Linked DNA regions of Homo sapiens: regions 2 and 3 are each linked to region 1. Evidence: promoter capture Hi-C in human tissues and cell types (Jung and others, 2019). All regions are on one chromosome and are shown on one strand. Each heading gives the region's core, a stretch centred on a gene start or on the middle of the fragment in contact. The rest is flanking DNA. Distances are from core to core; before and after follow the strand shown.

What was found. Contacts are between HindIII fragments. The study calls those that stand out against the background at their distance.
Region 2: a contact is called between a fragment that was not itself captured here and the fragment with the promoter of HOXC4 in region 1, in 1 of the 25 tissues and cell types used here (small bowel).
Region 3: a contact is called between a fragment that was not itself captured here and the fragment with the promoter of HOXC4 in region 1, in 2 of the 25 tissues and cell types used here (aorta and psoas muscle).

What each region holds. Positions count from the first base shown.
Region 1 is chr12:54,051,916-54,056,964 of GRCh38, forward strand. It overlaps HOXC4 (homeobox C4), which reads left to right and starts at 1,920. Exons shown (of 2, transcript NM_153633.3): 1 at 1,920-2,446; 2 at 2,935-4,115. The coding sequence starts at 2,008. The coding sequence ends at 3,290. RefSeq lists enhancers at 1-697, 698-1,679, 975-1,134 and a cis regulatory region at 1,711-2,211. The HindIII fragment of the contact is 12,403 bases long and covers 1-5,049 here.
Region 2 is chr12:54,381,425-54,386,473 of GRCh38, forward strand. ZNF385A (zinc finger protein 385A) reads right to left here and starts at 3,309. Exons shown (of 7, transcript NM_015481.3): 1 at 3,004-3,309. The coding sequence starts at 3,090. All of the region lies in intron 1 of GPR84-AS1 (GPR84, ZNF385A, ITGA5 and GTSF1 antisense RNA 1), which reads left to right. The HindIII fragment of the contact is 3,541 bases long and covers 870-4,410 here.
Region 3 is chr12:54,324,621-54,329,669 of GRCh38, forward strand. It overlaps COPZ1 (coat protein complex I subunit zeta 1), which reads left to right and starts at 511. Exons shown (of 9, transcript NM_016057.3): 1 at 511-561. The coding sequence starts at 544. RefSeq lists an enhancer at 4,571-5,049. The HindIII fragment of the contact is 4,502 bases long and covers 524-5,025 here.

The DNA.
Region 1 (5,049 bases), core at 670-3,169:
AAAGGATTGGAATCTCTTGCCTTCAGTCTCCCTCTCACAAGGGCTTTATTTTTTTTTTCCCTTTCCCCTCCTCATTCCCTTAATTGCAGATGTTCTAATTAAACCCTCAAATAGTTGTTATGCCGTTTTAAAAGGTACTTATTCAAGTGTCAACCAGGCTGGGCTGGGAGGAGGTAGCGTAGGGCGGCGAATTAAAGGTAGATTGACTAATCACGGCGGCGATCATAATAATAAAATCAGAGGGAAAAAAAATCACATTACGACTTTTCGTGGAAAGGAGGGAGCAGGCAGCCAGCGGCCGCCAGCCCTGCGCCGCCGCCGACACAAAGAGTGCGGGCGATTCCGCGAGACTGATTTATGACGTTTTACAGCCCTATAAAAGCTGTAGCGACGAGGCAAGCGCTCCTACCACCGCTGGCAGATTTAGTCTAATAAATAAAACATAAACAGTTAACTTTATGTGTCACTTTTATTGTTATCAAGTAAAATATAGCTGAGCCCTGGCAAGCTATGATTTTAAACTATAATTGTTATCAAGTACAACAAGGGGACCCGGCTCCCTCCCTGGGCTCTCCCCTCCGCTACCCCCCGCAACTCTGAGTTATGGGCGATCAGTTAATTGGAATCGGTGGCATGACAGGACCACCCCTAGCTGGGGGGGGGGGGTGGTGGTTAGGAAAGCAGCTTTTCCTGGCCCCCTCCCTCCTCTACGGCCCTGTCACCCCCCTCCATCAGAGTATTACTGTGAGTGGGTGGCAGAGAGAGAGCAGGGGGTGTGAATGGGCTGGAGACCCCAAAGGCTGGCCGTGCCTCCCCAACTTGGTGAGCTTAGCCTTCCGTTTTTGGAAAGCAGCCTGGAGCTGGCCTTTAGGAATTCGTGTTTACATGTAAACACACGTGTTACATGGATACAGCTCCTAGCCAGAAGCAAGCAGGCTCTACCCACACAGGCCTCCCTCTTAGCTAGGTCTGCCCTCTGTGGGGACAGAGAAAGAACTCTCAGGATCTTGGCTGGGCACCATCACAGGGCACTGACTCCTGGCAGAAAGCTCTCCTCCTTGCCCCAGCTCCTTGGAGATAATTGTCAGAAAATAGCAGGCCGGGCTGAATGGGGAGTGGAAACAGAAGCCAGCAGTAGAAGAGATCCTCTGCTCTGGGGCTGGGGCAGGGAGGGTCAGTGGGTAGCAGGGGAAGGCGAGACTTCTGAACTCTGCTTTTGCCAACCACTTCCTGTCTCTCTTCAGCGGGGGCTCAACCCCCAGACCTCCAGAAATGACGTCAGAATCATTTGCATCCCGCTGCCTCTACCTGCCTGGTCCAGCTGGGACCCTGCCTCGCCGGCCGCATGGCCAGAGGGTTGGGTGAGTGTGTATGGGGAAGAGGGGCTGGACTCTGGTATCCTTGGATGGGGGGCACTCCAGGCTCTCCAGCCTCCTCGGCTCAGCCTGGGCCCCTCCCCATCCAACATCCACTCCAGTCCTCATTCAACTTCCTCTTCCTGCGAAAGAGGGGCGCTGCCCCGTGACCTACACAGACTGAGACACGATCGCCATGAATGGAGACCTCTGGAAAAGCTCAGGAGCCGAGGCCCACGGGGCCCAGCAGAGGCCTGAGGGGAGACCCTGGGCGGGGGCTGAATCACTGCCTCCCGACAGTCCCCCAATGCCCGGGCTTTGGAGGGGAGCCGGGAGCTTCCCATCTCCTTTTGCAGGGGAGGGTTGTCAGTCTGGCGGGATGTGCACTGGGGGCACTCCAACCTCTGCTAGCTAACCCCACATCACCACCCACCCCCGCCTCCCAGCACCACCACCACCACACACACAAAAAAATTGGATACATTTTGAATAAAGCGATTCGGTTCCTTATCCGGGGACTGGGTTGCTCCGTGTGATTGGCCGGAGGAGTCACATGGTGAAAGTAACTTTACAGGGTCGCTAGCTAGTAGGAGGGCTTTATGGAGCAGAAAAACGACAAAGCGAGAAAAATTATTTTCCACTCCAGAAATTAATGATCATGAGCTCGTATTTGATGGACTCTAACTACATCGATCCGAAATTTCCTCCATGCGAAGAATATTCGCAAAATAGCTACATCCCTGAACACAGTCCGGAATATTACGGCCGGACCAGGGAATCGGGATTCCAGCATCACCACCAGGAGCTGTACCCACCACCGCCTCCGCGCCCTAGCTACCCTGAGCGCCAGTATAGCTGCACCAGTCTCCAGGGGCCCGGCAATTCGCGAGGCCACGGGCCGGCCCAGGCGGGCCACCACCACCCCGAGAAATCACAGTCGCTCTGCGAGCCGGCGCCTCTCTCAGGCGCCTCCGCCTCCCCGTCCCCAGCCCCGCCAGCCTGCAGCCAGCCAGCCCCCGACCATCCCTCCAGCGCCGCCAGCAAGCAACCCATAGTCTACCCATGGATGAAAAAAATTCACGTTAGCACGGGTAGGCAACTTTGCTTTTTGCTCCCCCCCTCCCTCCCTTCTTCCCTAGCGCTCCCCACCCTCCTCGGCCCCCTCTGGCCCCCGTCCTCCTTTCTCTCCTTCCCCCTCTCTCTCCAGGAGCGACTCTGGGTTAGCACAATTGAACTGGATTTACGAGCGAGAATGGGTAATTACATCCCCCATAAATTTTATGGCTTAGCTACTCTGGGCAGTCCGAGCCATGTGCTACGATCTGTTATGTATGTGTGAAAACTATGCTCGCTTTCTAAGGGCGCATAAATAATTCAGTGTCGTTACAATGAGGATTCCCCTCTTATTACACTACAAAGTCTTCAGCTTCCTTCAACTTCTTTATAACCCATTTAAGCTTGATGACTTTATTTCCACCACTCCCTCCTCCTGTTTCTCAGAGCTGAGGATGGGGTGAGGGTGGGGGGCGGGGAGCCTGCTGCCTCTGAACCCCACTATTTGCTTTTCCCCTCCCCCCAGTGAACCCCAATTATAACGGAGGGGAACCCAAGCGCTCGAGGACAGCCTATACCCGGCAGCAAGTCCTGGAATTAGAGAAAGAGTTTCATTACAACCGCTACCTGACCCGAAGGAGAAGGATCGAGATCGCCCACTCGCTGTGCCTCTCTGAGAGGCAGATCAAAATCTGGTTCCAAAACCGTCGCATGAAATGGAAGAAGGACCACCGACTCCCCAACACCAAAGTCAGGTCAGCACCCCCGGCCGGCGCTGCGCCCAGCACCCTTTCGGCAGCTACCCCGGGTACTTCTGAAGACCACTCCCAGAGCGCCACGCCGCCGGAGCAGCAACGGGCAGAGGACATTACCAGGTTATAAAACATAACTCACACCCCTGCCCCCACCCCATGCCCCCACCCTCCCCTCACACACAAATTGACTCTTATTTATAGAATTTAATATATATATATATATATATATATATAGGTTCTTTTCTCTCTTCCTCTCACCTTGTCCCTTGTCAGTTCCAAACAGACAAAACAGATAAACAAACAAGCCCCCTGCCCTCCTCTCCCTCCCACTGTTAAGGACCCTTTTAAGCATGTGATGTTGTCTTAGCATGGTACCTGCTGGGTGTTTTTTTTTAAAAGGCCATTTTGGGGGGTTATTTATTTTTTAAGAAAAAAAGCTGCAAAAATTATATATTGCAAGGTGTGATGGTCTGGCTTGGGTGAATTTCAGGGGAAATGAGGAAAAGAAAAAAGGAAAGAAATTTTAAAGCCAATTCTCATCCTTCTCCTCCTCCTCCTTCCCCCCCTCTTTCCTTAGGCCTTTTGCATTGAAAATGCACCAGGGGAGGTTAGTGAGGGGGAAGTCATTTTAAGGAGAACAAAGCTATGAAGTTCTTTTGTATTATTGTTGGGGGGGGGTGTGGGAGGAGAGGGGGCGAAGACAGCAGACAAAGCTAAATGCATCTGGAGAGCCTCTCAGAGCTGTTCAGTTTGAGGAGCCAAAAGAAAATCAAAATGAACTTTCAGTTCAGAGAGGCAGTCTATAGGTAGAATCTCTCCCCACCCCTATCGTGGTTATTGTGTTTTTGGACTGAATTTACTTGATTATTGTAAAACTTGCAATAAAGAATTTTAGTGTCGATGTGAAATGCCCCGTGATCAATAATAAACCAGTGGATGTGAATTAGTTTTACGTCAATGTCTGATGGTTTCTTTTTATTCCCCTCCCTCTCTGGCCTGGTAACATCCCATCTTCTCTATAGTTGCCTAAGTTTACTTTAAACAAACACACAAATCTTAGCTCTCCATTAGTCTTCCAATGTCCTTAGAAGAACAAGCAAGGGGGTTGGGGTATGGGATCTTCAGAAGAGGGGATGTGGAAGATTAAGGCTGATTTCTCCAGTCCCCTTCCTTCCCCCTGAGTCTGCAGAGAGACCAGACTCCTCTGGGGGCACTTCAGTGGAGCTGAGGGTGGGGAGTGTCTCACTTTTCTATAGTTAGGTACAGTTTCTTCTTTTTGTCTTTTCTCTCTCTTCCCTTCTCCCTCCTCTGTGCTGAGTAGGCCTGCCTACTTTGTAGACAAGGGGGCAAGTTTAGGGAGTGGGAAGGAGAATAGTTTTCTTTCATCTTTTAGGGCTCTTTTGGGATGAGGGATTAAGGAAGACATCCCCTCAACATTTGAGTTCTTAAAAGAAGGAAGGTTTTGAGCTGGTGACTCTGAAGCAGCAAAGTCACCTGTCAGGATGCCTTCTCTGTTTGTTTAGGCTTGGAAAAAAGACTGGCCAGAGGCCTGGGAGGTACCCTTGTTATGGATAGGCCTCAAAGGCTGATGCCTGGAGATAATAAAAGACTTTTACCTTTTTATTCTCTAACTTTTATTATGGACCTGCCAGGTGTTGCGAAGAGACTTAGGGAGAGTCAAGGACCACCCTCTCTTCCTATAACCTCCCAGGTCCTGGCAGCGTATGGGGATAGCCTGAACAAGTTTCTCTGGCTGTAAAGAAATAAATTAATTAAATAAATTTGTTTCCTTGGGGCTAAAAAAGAAACAAAAAATCTTGCCTGGATTACCTGAATACATTCAAGCCAAAGGCTCCCAAATAATTCTGGTCCTGAGATCCAGGCCC
Region 2 (5,049 bases), core at 1,390-3,889, 330 kb after region 1:
GAGGCAGTGGAGCCATGAACTCTGCAGGAGTCGAAACCCTGGATTATCCAATCAACTAAGTAGCTTTGTGACCTTGGACAATTCACTTAACCTCTCTGCGTCTGTGTTTCCTCATCTATACAATGGGGACAATGATGGGGTTGCTAAGATCTGAGGTCAAGTGTAAGTCAGGTGTTTAGATGGGGGGAGGTTTTCTCCCCATCTTATGACCTAGTCACATCCAATCTTGCACTTTCTCAAATGCTCCTTTCTAGCCCTTGTTCATGCTACTTACTTCAGTCTGGAATGTTCTCTAAGACTACTTTAAAAATCTTGCCAATAATTCTTCAAAGCCCAAATTATATGTCACCTGCTCCAGGTTAAATCCCTTTTTCCTCTGCTCTCTGTTTTTCTGCCTAACTCTGGTTGGTCCCTTAGGCCCCATCACATCCAGGAAGGTCTTTCTTGATACTTGGGCTTCCATGCAAGCAAAATGCCTCTGACACAGCTCTTCTCACACTGTATAGGGTAACTGTTAACTTGTTATCCTTCCTACCAAACTATGAGCTCCCCAAGTGTGGTAACTGAGTCCCGTGTCCCTGACACCAGGCACAGTACCCAGCACATAGTAGGTGCTCAAAAAAAATTTTTTTTTTGTTAAATTGAATTTTTTTTTTTTTTTGAGATGGAGTTTCACTCTGTTGCCCAGGCTGGAGTGCAGTGGCGCAATCTCGGCTCACTGCAACCTCTGCCTCCCAGGTTCATGCCATTCTTCTGCCTCAGCCTCCGGAGTAGCTGGGAGTACAGGCGCCCGCCACCACGCCCGGCTAGTTTTTTGTTGTTTTTTTTTTTAGTAGAGACGGGGTTTCACCATGTTAGCCAGGATGGTCTCAATCTCCTGACCTTGTGATCCGCCTGCCTCGGCCTCCCAAAGTGCTGGGATTACAAGCGTGAGCCACCACGCCTGGCCCAGTCTGAAAACTTAAAAGTGCAATGCAAATGTGTGTCTGGGTCCCTCATTTGGGGGGAGCAGCTGTGGTATAACGATAAGTCTGTTTAGAGTCAGATGCAATGGGTTCAAATCATACCTTAGGCACATACTGTGTCAACTTATATAAATTACTAAACCCTTCTGAGGCTTAGTTTTTGCTTTCTTATTTGTTAAATGGAATAATAATGTCTACCTTGTTGGGTTGTTGTGAAGGTGAAATGAGATTGCAGATAGAAACATCTGCTACAGTGCCTGGTGTGTAGTCAATGCTCAATACATGTTTATGGCTAAATATGGTTTGATGTGGGTTATTTAAGTTGAATAAGGCTGACTTTCCCCAAACTTTTAGCTCTAGCCCACCTTCCAGGCTTCAGATTCTAACTATCTGTAGAACATTTTGGGCTCAATGTCCTACTGGTATGCCAAATCACCATATCCTTTTTTTTTTAAAAAAAATATTTATTATTATTTTTTAAAACAAAACAAATAGGCCAGGCACGGTGGCTCAAGCCTGTAATCCCAGCACTTGGGAGGCTGAGGCAGGTGGATCACAAGGTCAGGGTTCCAGACCAGCCTGGCCAAGATGGTGAAACCCCATCTCTACTAAAAATACAAAAATTAGCTGGGCATGGTGGTACGTGCCTGTAATCCCAGCTACTGAGGAGGGTGAGGCAGGAGAATGGCTTGAACCCAGGAGGCGGAGGTTGCAATGAGTCAAGATCATCATGCCACTGCACTCCAGCCTGAGAGATTGAGCAAGACTACATCTCAAAAACAAAACAAAACAAAACAAAACAAATAAAGCTTTAGCTTTAGCACCACATGCTAAAGCATCATCCTCACTGGAGACCAGCTTCCTCTTCCAACCCTCTGCCTCTGTCAGTGGTGACTTCCATCCAATCACAAAGGCCTGAATGCTGGAGTCATCCTTGACTCATGCCTTCTCTTCTCCCCCACCCCCAAACACCAGTTGGTCACCATGGCCTGTCAATATTTCCTTGAAATTACCTCCCCCATTCTCCCTTTCTCTCCACTCATACTGCCACTGCCACCAGCCCCGTCTGGCTTTTGAGGCTTCCCTCGGGCCTGCATTGCTAGGACAGCCTCCTAACTGTCACCTTCCTCCTGCCTCTGTTCCCTTTCATCCAGTTGCCCCACTCACCTTCCTCAAACACTGCTCTTACCAAGTCACTCTCCTGCTCAAGAATAGACAGTGGCGGCTGGGTGTGGTGGCTCATGCCTGTAATCCCAGCACTTTGGGAGGCTGAGGCAGGCGGATCACCTGAGGTCAGGAGTTTGAGACCAGCCTGGCCAACATGGTGAAACCCCATCTCTACTAAAAATACAAAAATTAGCCCGGTGTGGTGGCACACGCCTGTAATCCCAGCTACTTGGGAGGCCGAGGCAGGAGAATCGGTGAACTGGGGAGGTGGAGGCTGCAGTGACCCAAGATCGTGCCACTGCACACCAGACTGGGCAACAGAGTGAGACTCCGTCTCATAAAAACAAACAAACAAACACACGAATAGACAGCACCTCCTTATTTCATATTGTATTAAATCTAGACCACCTTGCCAGTCCTCCAAGCCCTATCCCACTGATGCTACCCACCCAGCCGTGGACTGCAGAGAGGTGAAACTTACAAACAGGCATGCTTATTTTCCTGCTCATTCCCTCTTTCTGGATTCAGCACCTACACCCCTCCTACCTCCCTACTGTTACTACCACCAATTTAAGTCTCATTACTTCTCTAGATGGTAGGGCGATTCACTGTAGGACTAAATGAGATAATTCATATAAAACACTTAGCACAGTGTCTGGCCCGTAGCAAGACCTCAGCAAATATTAGCTATTATTATTGTTGTTAACACTGTACCAGATGGCCCACAATACTCAAAATTAACTAGAATTAAGGAAGATGGGGTCATAAGAGGAGATAAGGAATTAGAAACAGAAGAAGAGGGCAGAGGTGGGTCTGAGAGAGAAAGGTCGGGTCACAAGAGGATGGAGAAGGCAGGCAGGCTGCTACTTACGGTGCTGTAGTTGCTGAAGAGGCCAAGGGTAGGGGCTGGCTCGAGTGGGAAGGGCAGGATCTGCTTGAGGTCCAGTGGGGGCTGCATGATCGGGGGCTGCCGTAGCAGAGGCAGGGGCCCTGCCCGGCTCAGGCTGCCTGAAGGGCAGAGAAAACATTCTGTGGGGTAGGAAGATTAAAGCTTGGGAACCCCACCCAAGCCTGCCAGTCCCACTCCCTAGCCAGGGCCCCCACACTCAGAAGTGTCACCCTCAGTGCACATAGTGTACACACTTCCCCTGCTGGCTCCAGAGCAATGGAGCACAGTGCCCTGTGGGCCTGGGGGAGGGTGTAGACCAGTCCTTCCCTTCTGGGTGGTTTTCACTTCCCCCTTTTCCAGCCTCCCTCCCCCAAACTCCTTAGGCACATTACAGACCCAGTAAGAGCTCATACCTTTTCTGCAGGCTGCCTGCTGAACCAGCAGGACTCCCAGCCTCAAGCCCCTGGCCACCCTCTTCTTCTGGTTTTGCTTTCCCCCAGGGGATCCTAAAGCTTGGTATCGCCCCAGGAAGAAGAGAGTCAAGTGGGTGATTCATCCTACTGACCAGAGGGGGATATTGAGACTTAGATTTGGAGGGGGGCTGCTGAATCTCTCAGATGCCCTAGAATTAGATTTTGCTCTAACTATAATTCTTTATTAACTATTGACATCTGTGGGGGTAGGTAGTGGGTTGGGTGGCTTTTGCTCTGGGAGGTGAACTACCTAGGCCATTCTCAGAGCCCCTTCTCCCAACCTTCCTCAGTCTTCCCCCATGCCCTTTTGTCTCACCAGGAATGCTCAGCTACAGGTCCAGTTCTGCAGGAGGAACCTCGACCTGGCCTATGGGCGGGGAATGCCTGGGTCTGACCCCAAGGGGAAATGAAAGTCCAGGCCAGCCATTCAACTACCCTTCTCTGAAACCTTCTCCTCCTCCTCTCAGAGTCACGGGAGGAACTCCACCAGACTCCAAAGGGGCAGCCCAAAGGTCCTCAGAGCCCTTCTGGGCTTCCACTGGCCCAGCTCCCTTCTGCGACCCTGCTGTGCACCAGCTGGGGAGTTCTGGCCGCCCTTCACTGCTCCAGTAACCCCCTGACAGCAACAGGGGTTCCCAGGAACAAAGGCAAACCGAGGAGGCTGCGTGCTTGGCCCGTCCTCCCTTGACTTTACTAGAGCAGAAGGTCTCCAGGATCCCTTCCTGTTCCCTCCAGACACCACCCCCTTTCATACCTTTAGTTTCTGATGCCTGCTGCCCCCAGGCAGTGGCCTGGCCCTGGCCCCCCAGGGGCCTGGGCCTGACAGCGTCCCCTTCCCTTGGTTCTGCCCTCTGCCCCCTCCCTTGCCAGCCCCCTCCCCCTCAGCCCAGTCAGTAGAATCAGCCAATCAGAATCCTGGAAAAGTGGGGCAGAGGGGAGGGCAGGGGAGCAGGGATTAGGGGAATCTGAGGCGACAGGGAGGGGGTGGGGAGGGCTCAGGCACAGCTGGGGGCTGGGAGCTGGTCCAGAAAGGTCTGGAGGGGTCTGTCTCTTTCACCCCATGCCAGGATGGGTGGTCAGGGTGACTGAGACAGAGCAGGGGGTCAAGGCTACTGGGAGTTTGGGCTTCAGAATTCTCAGGGCTAAAGGAGAGGGTAAGATCCTTGGCTTTGACCCTTAAGTAGCTGGGGGTCTGTATGCTTTGTGTCTATTCCCTCCTCTGTCACCTTCAAGGTTGGGATGGGGTGGAGAGAGGACACACACACACACACACACACACACACACACACACAGAGAGACGGACAGATGAAAGTGAGTGAGAGGATGGGAGAGTGGTAGCAGCAGGAATAGGTGACTGAGGAATCGGACAGTGACACTGAGAGAGAAAAGGATAGAGAACAATGGAGAGATGTCAGAGAGCGAAATCAGACATACAAACAGAGAGACACTGCCGAAAAGCTGGACACAGAACTAGAGACTAGGGCAGACAGACCGAGAGACAGAGAACAGAGACAGCGAGAAAGATAAAAGAGAAGAGAGAGGGACAGATAGATGG
Region 3 (5,049 bases), core at 1,525-4,024, 270 kb after region 1:
GGCTCTACTCTATGGTTGTGCAGACTTTCTGTGAGGATGCTGAAGTGACCTGAGCGAGCATGAGGGAAGGGCTAGCCACAGAGATCATGGACCTAATGCGGGCGCTGAAAATAGGGATTAGGGCAGGATTCCGGTTAGAAAGCGCCAGTGTTAAAGGCTAAGGAGACACAGCGCCCCCTAAAGAGGGTGCGGTTTAAAAATCGCTAAATCAGTCCGACAATATCACGTGTCCTCGGCCCTACCAATTGAAAATTAACAATCGCTTCTTCTGTTCCCCATGGAAACAACCCCGCCCCACTAACCCTCCCGCCCCAATGAGTCGTGAGGTTTTGGCGTTTTATTGAGTATTCAAGCTGACAATCAAACACCTGAGCCTTCTGGTTGGACACTTTGCTTCCGGTAAGCAAGCTAGTACAATAATTGGCCAATAAAGCAAGCCTTACCCAATGATCCTTATCCTAGGCGGGGCCTAATGGGAACGTATGGCCAATCAGCGGCGGCGTTTCTTTTGCGGCTCCACGTCGGCACCAGCTGCGGGGCAAGATGGAGGCGCTGATTTTGGTAGGAGCTGGAGGGGCAGCAGAGATGCTGTGGTGTCCACAGGGGCCGGGAGTCAGGGTTCAGCCCGAGTGGGAGACGGGGAAAGAGAGTTCCGGGTAATTCTTGGGGACTGAGCGTTCTGCTGACCTTTGGAATAAGTGTGTGGCCTAGTGTAGGAGCTAAAGCCTTGGTTTAGAGTAGGAAGCCCTGCCGGGGAGAGGGCATAGAGTCGGTGGAAAGTTGAAGGCAGCACATGGACTCCTTAGGATACACAGACCTGTAGGCGTACTGGATTAGGACCCTTCAGGTTGCCCCTTATTTTTAGCATTGTGGATGATACCCTGATTTTAATTTACCAAACCACCAAACTCGCCCCATATTGTAAGAAAAGAATACAGATGTTTTGTCGTTACAGACTCCTCCTGATGGTTTCCCAAGTTTGACTCTCCATTGCCGATTCCCTGCCACATTCCTTCAGGAAACTGTTTTGTCTTCGGTTTCCTGTTAATCCCTATTATATAGGTTTGTCAAATAATCAGTATTCCATCAAAGTTCTGGGATACCTGATAAAGTTAGCATGGATTGTGGAATATTTTTTCTAGACTCCTTATTCTGTTCTCCTTTTCTCTACCCATTTAGACCTTAGGAATTCTTTTTTTTTTTTTTTTTTTTTGAGACCGAGCCTTGCTCTGTCACCCAGGCTGGAGTGCGCACGTGGCGCGATCTTGGCTCACTGCAATCTCCACCTCCCGGGTTCAAGCTATTCTCTTGCCTCAGCCTCCCGCGTAGTTGGGACTATAGGCGCGTGCCACCACGCCCGGCTATTTTTTTTGTATTTTTAGTAGAGACGTGGTTTCACCATGTTGGCCAGGCTGGTTTCGAACTCCTGACCTCAAGTGATCCGCCCGCCTCGGCCTCCCAAAGTGCTAGGATTACAGGCTTGAACCACCGCGCCTGGCCAGGAATTATTATTATTATTATTATTATTATTATTTTTGAGACGGAGTCTCACTCTGTCGCCCAGGCTGGAGTGCAGTGGTACGATCTCGGCTCACTGCAAGCTCCGCCTCCCGGGTTCACGCCATTCTTCTGCCTCAGCCTCCGGAGTGGCTGGGACTACAGGCGCTCGCCACCACTCCCGGCTAATTTTTTGTATTTTTTAGTAGAGACGGAGTTTCACCGTGTTAGCCAGGATGGTCTCGATCTCCTGACCTCGTAATCCACCCGCCTCGGCCTCCCAAAGTGCTGGGATTACAGGCGTGAGCCACTGCGCCGGGCCAGGAATTCTTATTGTATGATCTAGGATGCTAATTTCTCCCTCTCTGGTTACATGAGAATTGTGGTCGCTAAAGGGCTGTATTAGCCCTCTTGTCCATATGATGCTTTATGCTTGTTCTAACAAATAAAATACCTGTTACCCCTTTTTAGAACTGGACCAGAGAATTTCTCTCAAAAGTGCCCTATTTTGCGATTTGGAGGGGTGTGTGTGTGTGTGTGTGTGTGTGTGTGTGTGTGTGTGTAGGTAGGTAGGTAGTATAGTGTAGGAATTTAACTCCCAGCCTTCTTCCTTAATTGGCTTGAACTCTAGGCCTCTTTCCAAAGAAGCTTGTCTTTTATTTTCCTTCAGATCTCCTAAGCATACACATTCAGATCCTCATCAGATAAAAGAATAACAGGTTTTAATTCCTCTCTTTCAGTTAAAGACAGTTAATTCCTTATGTCGGTTGGTCAAATATAGGTAAAAAGCTTAAAATCTGAGTAGTTTTAAATATTTTCTGTACCAAGCAGTTAACAAGTATTCTTTTTTTTTTTTTTTTTTTTTTTTTTTTTTTTTTTTTGAGATAGAGTCTGGCTGTGTTGCCCAGGCTGGGGTGCAGTGGTGCAATCTTGGCTCACTGCAACCTCCGCCTCCCAGAATCAAGCAATTCTCATGCCTCAGCTTCCTGAGTAGCTGGGGTTACAGGCACGCGCCACCATGCCCAGCTAATTTTTGTATTTTTAGTAGAAACAGGGTTTCTCCATGTTTGCCAGGCTGGTCTAGTCTTGAACTCCTGACCTCAAGTGATCTGCCTGCCTTGGCCTCCCAAAGTGCTGGGATTACAGGTGTGAGTCACTGCACCCCGGCCAGTTAGCAAGTTTTTTTTTTTTTTTTTGGAAACAGAGTCTCGCTGTGTCACCCAGGCTGGAGTGCAGTGGTGTGATCTCACCTCACTGCAACCTCTGCCTCCTGGGTTGAAGCAATTTCTCCTGCCTCAGCCTCACGAGTAGCTGGGACTACAGGCACGTGCTGCCACACCTGGCTAACTTTTTTGTATTTTAGTAGAGACGGTTTCACTGTGTTGCCCAGGCTGGTCTTGAACTCTTGAGCTCAGGCAATCCACCTGCCTCAGCCTCCCAAAGTGCTAGGATTATAGGAGTGAGCCACCGTGCCCGGCAGCAAGTATTCTTAATCAAGAGGTTGAGTGCAGTGGCTCATGCCTGTAATCCCAGCACTGTAAGAGGCTGAGGCAGGAGGATCGCTTGAGCCTGGGAGTTTGAGGCTGCAGTGAGCTATGATTGTGCCACTGCACTCCAGCATGGGTGACAAAGCCAGACCCTGTCTCTAAAAAAATAAGAATAAAAAACCTCCCCCTAAACCCAATTAGCAGACTAGGATAGATTCTAGGGAATTGGTTTTTTTGGAAGTTTTTAGACTTACCTATATATGTTTAGAAGGGAGCCTGCTTAAAGGTAAAGGAATGAGGAAGATAATAATTGGGGAGCCCTTTTAACAATGGGCCTGTGTGTAGTGGGTAAGCTGGGGGAGTTATATGTGAAAGTATCTCTGTCGGGCGCAGTGCAGTGGCTCATGCCTGTAATCCTAGCACTTTGGGAGGCTGAGGTGGGCGGATCACTTGAGGTCAGGAGTTCGAAACCAGCCTGGCCAACATGGTGAAACCATGTCTCTACTAAAAATACAAAAAAAAATAGCTGGGCGTGGTGGCACGAGCCTATAGTCCCAACTACTCAGGAGGCTGAGGCAGGAGAATCACTTGAGCCAGGGAGGCAGAGGTTGCAGTGAGCCGAGATCGCGCCACTGCACTCCAGCCCAGGCGACAGTGTTAGACTCCATCTCAAAAAAAAAAAAAAGGCCGGGCACGGTGGCTCACGCCTGTAAATCCAGCACTTTGGGAGGCCGAGGTGGGCGGATCACGAGGTCAGGAGTTGGAGACCAGCCTGACCAACATGGTGAAACCCGGTCTCTGCTAAAAATACAAAACTTAGCTGGGCGTGGCCACGCCTGTAATCCCAGCTACTCAGGAAGCTGAGGCAAGAGAATCACTTGAACCTGGGAGGCAGAGGTCGCGGTGAGCCGAGATGCGCCACTGCACTCCAGCCTGGGTGACAGAGCAAGGCTCTGTCTCAGAAAAGTTAAAGAAAAAGAAAGTCTCTCTGTCACATTTCTCTTCCCTTAGTTCTCTGTCTCTGCTTCTTCAGTGAAGTCTGTTTCAGCCTGCTTCTTCCTTATTCTTTTGCTTTAATCTATGCCTAATAGGCTGCATTCACAGATCCCTGCTAACTTGATCAGGTAACCCTGGACTTTGCTTTTAAAACCACACTGGTTCTTTGTTATGGGAAACCTATGTAATGCGGTTAGGGACAATCTGATCAAAGCATATTCTTCTGTCCTTAACTCTACAAGGTACATACATAGCTGCAGGATGTCGAGAAAAAGGGACAGGTAAGCTACAGGGGGTCAAGAAGAACTGTTGATCAAAGTTTGCATTGATTGTGGAATTTCTAAATAACAGTAAGTTCCCTTCTTTTAGGTACTTTACAGTGGGTCACATGGTCACATTTCTTTCTTGAATTAAGTAATCCAGCTCTAGCTTTCAAGCAGATTTGTCTAATCTCTCTCAGGTCTCCTTAGGCTCTAAGGAAAGAGACCCTTTCATCTCTTTTAGTTCCCAATGCTTAATAATAGTGATCTCAGCCTGCATCTTTGGACTTGGCTTCTTCTCTCTTGCTGTATCTGCTGGTTCTCGCTTTTTGAGTTGTGAATGAAGAGGATCTCTGCAGATCACCATTCTCCATTAATAACCTGTGGAATCTTAAAGATAAGGATTTCCCCTTCCTCCTTCCTGCTTTACTTTTTTTCTTTAAAGCTGAATTACTCGGGCCGGGCTCGGTGGCTCACACCTGTAATCCTGAGGTGAGTGGATCACCTGAGGTCAGGAGTTCAAGACCAGCCTGACCAACATGGTGAAACCCGTCTCTGCTAAAAATACAAAAATTAGCTGGGCGTGGTGGCATGCGCTTGTAATCCCCAGCTACACGGGAGACTGAGGCAGGAGAATCGCTTGAACCTGGGAGGCGGAGGTTGCAGTGAGCCGAGGGCCATTGCACTCCAGCCTGGGCAAAAAGTGAAACTCTGTCTTAAAAAACAAACAAAACTGAATTCTGTATCGGTTTAGATCTTTAAATCTTTGTTCATAGGTTTTATTTTTCCTAATCCTCTCTGGATTCACT